Regions from separate parts of the Homo sapiens genome. Here region 2 is linked to region 1. The links are contacts of gene promoters, found by promoter capture Hi-C in blood cells and fetal thymus (Javierre and others, 2016). All regions are on one chromosome and are shown on one strand. The core of a region is centred on a gene start or on the middle of the fragment in contact, and the rest is flanking DNA. Distances in the headings are between cores, read along the strand shown.

Region 1 (2,821 bases), core at 222-2,721:
TGCCTGATTCCAGCCAGTTATATATAAAAGATCTCCTGCTCCAACCTGGCCCTACGTGGTGGGTAGCCTGGGCCCTGAGAATGTTTTCTTCTACAATGGACAGGCCAAAGGAGGACAGAGGGGGTTACAAAAAGATAATATCCATCAGAGGCAAAGAGTACTCAAAAGTGAACTTCTACCATTTCCACTGGATATTGATTAACTTCCCTGAGCCTCAGTTTCCTCATTCGTTTATGAGAGTAGCCCAGGAGGCATCTACCCCTCCCAACCCGCCAGGATTGCTGAGAGGACAGAGTACGCGTGCAAGGTTTTGCAATGTGCCAGAGCTTAGTAAGTGTTAGCACTTATGAAAACAGCGTTTATATATCATTTGGGTCATGGGACTCTTGGAAAACCTGATGATACCTATGGTTTCTTCCTGCCTCCGCCCCACCCCCACCTTCCAGCCTCCAAAAATGTCACCTCCAAAAAACAAATAAGGCAGGGCGCGGTGGCTCACGCCTGTAATCCCAGCACTTTGGGAGGCCGAGGCGGGCGGATCACAAGGTCAGGAGATCTAGACTATCCTGGCTAACACGGTGAAACCCCGTCTCTACTAAAAATATAAAAAATTAGCCGGGGCCGGGCGCGGTGGCTCACGCCTGTAATCCCAGCACTTTGGGAGGCCGAGGCGGGTGGATCACGAGGTCAGGAGATCGAGACCATCCTGGCTAACACGGTGAAACCCCGTCTCTACTAAAAATACAAAAAATTAGCCGGGCGTGATGGCGGGCGCCTGTAGTCCCAGCTACTCGGGAGGCTGAGGCAGGAGAATGGCGTGAACCCGGGAAGCGGAGCTTGCAGTGAGCCGAGATCGCGCCACTGCACTCCAGCCTGGGCGACAGAGCGAGACTCCGTCTCAAAAAAAAAAAAAAAAAAAAAAAAAAAAAAATTAGCCGGGCGTGGTGGCGGGTGCCTGCAGTCCCAGCTGCTCTGGAGGCTGAGGCAGGAGAATGGCGTGAACCCGGGAGGCGGAGCTTGCAGTGAGCCTAGATGGCGCCACTGCACTCCAGCCTGGGCGACAGAGCGAGACTCTGTCTCAAAAACAAACAAACAAACAAAAAACAAATAAGACTCGCCGACCCATGCCATAGATTGACGACCCTTGAAGGTGGCTCGTGTACCCAGGTTAAGCCACGTGTCTCTAAAATGTTCATTTAGGCGGCGCTGTGTTACCTGCGGGAATCCCCGACCTGCGGCTCCTGACCACGGGCCACCCCGCCCAGACCCTGCAGGCGGGCTCTCCACGAGGGTCTGCGCAGCCCCGCGGGGGTCCTGACAGGCCGAGCGACTGCAGTAGGAGGGGGCGGGCCCGGCTCTCGGTCCGCCCCCACGCCGGGCTCGGGGTGGGGGCTCGGGGCCTATTACGGGATGGAAGCTCCGGGTGTCGCGGGGGCGGGAGGAATTAAGGGAGGGAGAGAGGCGCGCGGGTGAAAGGCGCATTGATGCAGCCTGCGGCGGCCTCGGAGCGCGGCGGAGCCAGACGCTGACCACGTTCCTCTCCTCGGTCTCCTCCGCCTCCAGCTCCGCGCTGCCCGGCAGCCGGGAGCCATGCGACCCCAGGGCCCCGCCGCCTCCCCGCAGCGGCTCCGCGGCCTCCTGCTGCTCCTGCTGCTGCAGCTGCCCGCGCCGTCGAGCGCCTCTGAGATCCCCAAGGGGAAGCAAAAGGCGCAGCTCCGGCAGAGGGAGGTGGTGGACCTGGTGAGTCCGAGGGAGCCGAGCCGGGACCGCCGCGCTGGTGGAGGGGACCTGGCCGCGCGCCCCACGGGCAGGGCGTCAGTCTGGCTGTTGGGGGTGTCTGTCTGTACAGCTGTGTGTCGTGTGTCTTGCTGCGCCGGGGTGTCATGCTTTTTATTTACAGGTGAAGAAGGACCTGGTTATGCGTGCAGTGAGTCTTGGAACTCAGAGGGGAGACCAAAATGGGAGGCCATCGTGGAGCGGACATGCGATATGGGCCCGGTGGGTCTCCCCGAAGTACAGGGAGTCCCCCAATAATTTCTGGCCCCAGGGGGACCCCTTGGGAAGGGTGGGAGGGATAGGGCGGCAGTGAGAGTAGGATGAGGAGCTTGGGTACGTCCGAAGTGGACCTGGGAAAAACCCTGGCCTCGCTGATCACATGGACCTGGGCCTGGGCCAGGGCGGTGCAACGTGTCCTTTGTTGGGGCTGGTGGCCACGTCTGCCTGCGAGAGAGAATAACAACCCCCACAAAGCATCCGTCCAACTCTTTGTAACTTGAAGACTATGAGTCACGTTGGGTCATCTTCCTAGGGAGTATGGGCTGCAATTTACTTTGTTGGACAACCACAGCTGGGGCTAGGAATGGTTCAGAAGGTTTAAGGCCGGAAAGGGAAATGAAGGGGCCCGGCGCTAACCCTCTAAGGACCTGTTTTGCTTCTGTTTAAACCAAATGGGCAGTCTGTCATTACACACACCCTGGGTCTTCATATGTGGCCGCCAGGTAGGAGCATCACAGTCAAGCTACGGGAGAAAACAGTTTCCAGGAAACTGGAAATGAACGGCCCGAGTGCTTTCCAGGGGCTCATCTGTGGGAAGGTATGTTTGCTTAAAATCCTTCCCTCTAAAAATCAACAAACCCAGTGGAGGGCGGAGAGGTTCTCTGGCCTGTGGTATGAGGGAGCCTTTCAGAGCTACCGTAGTCCTTGGCATATTATAAACTTCAGTCTCACTTGCAGACAAACATGATTTACAGGCATTGCAAGACATAAGTTGGGGCATTTTTTTTTAATTAAAAAGAAAGTTTTGAATTTGTTAAGCTGCCAT
Region 2 (2,947 bases), core at 166-2,665, 330 kb before region 1:
TAAAGCTCCTTTCTCCTATGCATATTTTAGTATTTTCTGTAAGTATATATAACTCTGAACACTATATACTATTATGTGTTTTTCAGTTGTGGAAATAGAAACTCTTACTCTGCTGGCAGGAACTTAAGTTGGTAGGGGCTTTGGAGAACAATTTGGCAATACCCAAAAGAGTTGGCAGTGGTCTGTGTCAGTTGTCTCATGCTGCACAACAAACTACCCCAAACTTAGTGGCTTAAAACAGTGATTTCTTATTTCTCCTAATTCTGTGAGTTGCTGGGGTAGTCCCTCTGCTTGTTTTGCCTGGACTCATTGATGCAGCCGCATTCAGCTGGGAGATTGGCTGGGCTGGAGGGCTCAAAATGGCCTCAGTCACATGTCTGGTGGTTCATGCTGGTTGTTGGTTCTCTACATGTGGCCTTATCACTTGCAATAGACTTCCTTATGTGGTAGTCTGAGGGCAGTGGTCCAAGACGCAAGGCCTCTTGAGGTCTGAGCCCTGAACTCGCATAGTGTGGCTTCCATGCGTTTTGTTGGTCAAACCAAGTCACAAGGCCAGCTCCACCTTTTGATGGAAGGAGTGGCAAAGTCACACTGCATAGGAGCATGGAAAGACATCTCGCCTCCATCTTTGAAGACATATCCTGTAATTCAGCTATTTTACTTTTATCTATCCCAGAAAAAATCTTTCACAGATAGAGAGATATGTACACATTGTTCACAGCAGAATTGTTTATAATAGCAAAAAAGTAAAAACAATTTAAGTCATTCCAGGAAGAAGCAGATAATAAATTTTAGTTTATTCATATAATGGAATACCATATATCAATTAAAATTAATGATCACTGGATAATTCTAAAAATAGGTTGAATGAAAAAATCAGATTGGAAAAGAATATGATAGTATAATAGCCTTAAAGTTCAATATTTGAAGTTTCTTGGGTAGGCTAATGAAGATTTTGCTTTTGCTTCTGTTTTGAAATCAAAACTTATCTTTGGATGGCCTCATTAGAGCATGGTGCTTATGAGTAGCTTCCATCCTTGGATGGCCAGTTAAGCTGTGCTGTTCTCTGACCAGACGGGCTGTCACTAAAAAGCTTGTGTTTAGCTTGTTGGCCATTTGGGAAAGTGTAGCTCTTTCATTTGAGAAGGTGTAGGTAGAGCTGATAAAGGTTTAACTTCATCAGTAATGTTAGAAAAGTCCATATACAGTACAGTTTCTTTTTTAAAATTTTTTTTCTAGAATATAGTTTCTTAACATTCATTTAATACCACTGTCTGCATCTGTACCAGGTTTAACCTGCATTTCTTATCTGTAAATGGGAAGCATGATATTTACCTCGTAGAGGTGTTGGGAAGATGAATTGAGATAATAATGCATTTAAAGCAGTACCTTTTATATGGTAGATCCTCTATAAACAGTAGTTAGAAAAATTAACAAGTATATAGGATGGCATCTATGTTAAGTTCACTTTCAATGGTATTGTAGTGAGAAGGTAGCATTGATTACCTACTCATAGGTACTTTAAGTAGGTACTTTAATTAAATTTTAGGACTACTGTAATTATGAAAGTCCATTATTAACTATAATACTTTACATTTTAAAGGAAATTTACATTTATAAACTCTTTTCACATTAATTATCTGATTTTGTTCTCAGGACAACTTTGTAAGATAGTTATATTCAATTTAGAGACATTGAATATTAGTTTCAGGAGAGGTTAAATAAGCAGTGTTAGCAGAAAGCTTATGTTGGTTCTCATGAAGGCAGATTAAAATGGAAATAATGATACCATAATACTTTGATTTTTATCATTTGTGTTTATGTGCTTTACCTACCTAGATTCTGAATAGATTTGTCTCTGTACTTTTTTCCCCCTTCTGTGTGTGTGGGAAGGGGAAGGAGGAGGAGGAGGAAAAGAGATTATAGAAGAGGGTTAGGTGAATCTTAATGGGACTCTTTGGAAAGGGAGAACTGCAGCCTGCCTCTCAGATCCAAAAATGTTATATTAACGCCACCCTCTCAGCTCCCTATATTTTAAAATAGCCAAGCAGATTGGCAAGATTTTTTTTTTTTCAGATTTGTAAATGTTCGATGGCAACTAAGTCTATGCATCAAAGATTTGAGGAGATTTCTCTAGGTTGACTATGGATTAGAATTAACCACCAAATTTACTAGCCATGTAGGATTTGCTAAGCCAATGTGACAAATTTATTTGGTGACTTCTGTTTATAAATGCATTGATTCAATTAAATTCTTTCTCCAAGATAAAAGTTATGCTTTTTTTTTCTTTTTTTAAATTTCCTATTTTGGTTGTATGCTTTAAAAGTTTGAGATAGGTTGGGTGTGGTGGATCACTTGAGGCCAGGAGTTCAAGACCAGCCTGGCTAACATGGCAAAAACCTGTCTCTACTAAAAATACAAAAATTAGCTGGGTGTGATGGTGCATGGCTGTAATCCCAGCTACTCAGGAGGCTGAGGCACAAAAATCGCTTGAACCTGGGAGGCGGAGGTTGCAGTGAGCTGAGATTATGCCACTGTACTCCAGCCTGGGCGACAGAGTGAGACACTGTCTCAAAAAAAAAAAAAAGTTTAAGATAAACCTATAAATTTGTAACTCTCCAGCTTTGTTGGTTGAAGGAAACTATTGGTGGCTGGTATTTTGGGTAATCTCACTTCTTGGCTAACTCCCGTTAAGGATGTTTTATAATGAAAAAAAGTAGGTACTTCACATATTAGGTTTTTATCACCTCACTTTCCTAGTATCATAAATAAATCGTTTTTTCACCATTTGTGTAGATTTATTTCGAGGTAGGTAAATTTCACTTTGCTTGAGATCCTATGCCAACATTAGATTAGTTTTGAAACAGGTTATATGTTATAACTTCTCCTATGATTCTGAAACACTTTAGAAACAAATGATTTTAAATGTGATTTTTTTTATTTGTTT

Evidence for each region. The method cuts DNA at HindIII sites, captures the fragments that hold promoters and counts their contacts. A CHiCAGO score of 5 or more calls a contact.
Region 2: a contact is called between a fragment that was not itself captured here and the fragment with the promoter of CTHRC1 in region 1, in 1 of 17 cell types (total B cells). The highest score is 6.0, in total B cells.

Annotation. Positions count from the first base shown.
Region 1 is chr8:103,370,067-103,372,887 of GRCh38, forward strand. It overlaps CTHRC1 (collagen triple helix repeat containing 1), which reads left to right and starts at 1,472. Exons shown (of 4, transcript NM_138455.4): 1 at 1,472-1,740. The coding sequence starts at 1,591. RefSeq lists enhancers at 1,132-1,926, 1,927-2,720 and a silencer at 1,356-1,475. The HindIII fragment of the contact is 4,990 bases long and covers 1-2,821 here.
Region 2 is chr8:103,037,841-103,040,787 of GRCh38, forward strand. All of the region lies in intron 1 of ATP6V1C1 (ATPase H+ transporting V1 subunit C1), which reads left to right. Among named protein-coding and RNA genes, the nearest start is that of ATP6V1C1, 18 kb to the left of the region's middle. The HindIII fragment of the contact is 649 bases long and covers 1,092-1,740 here.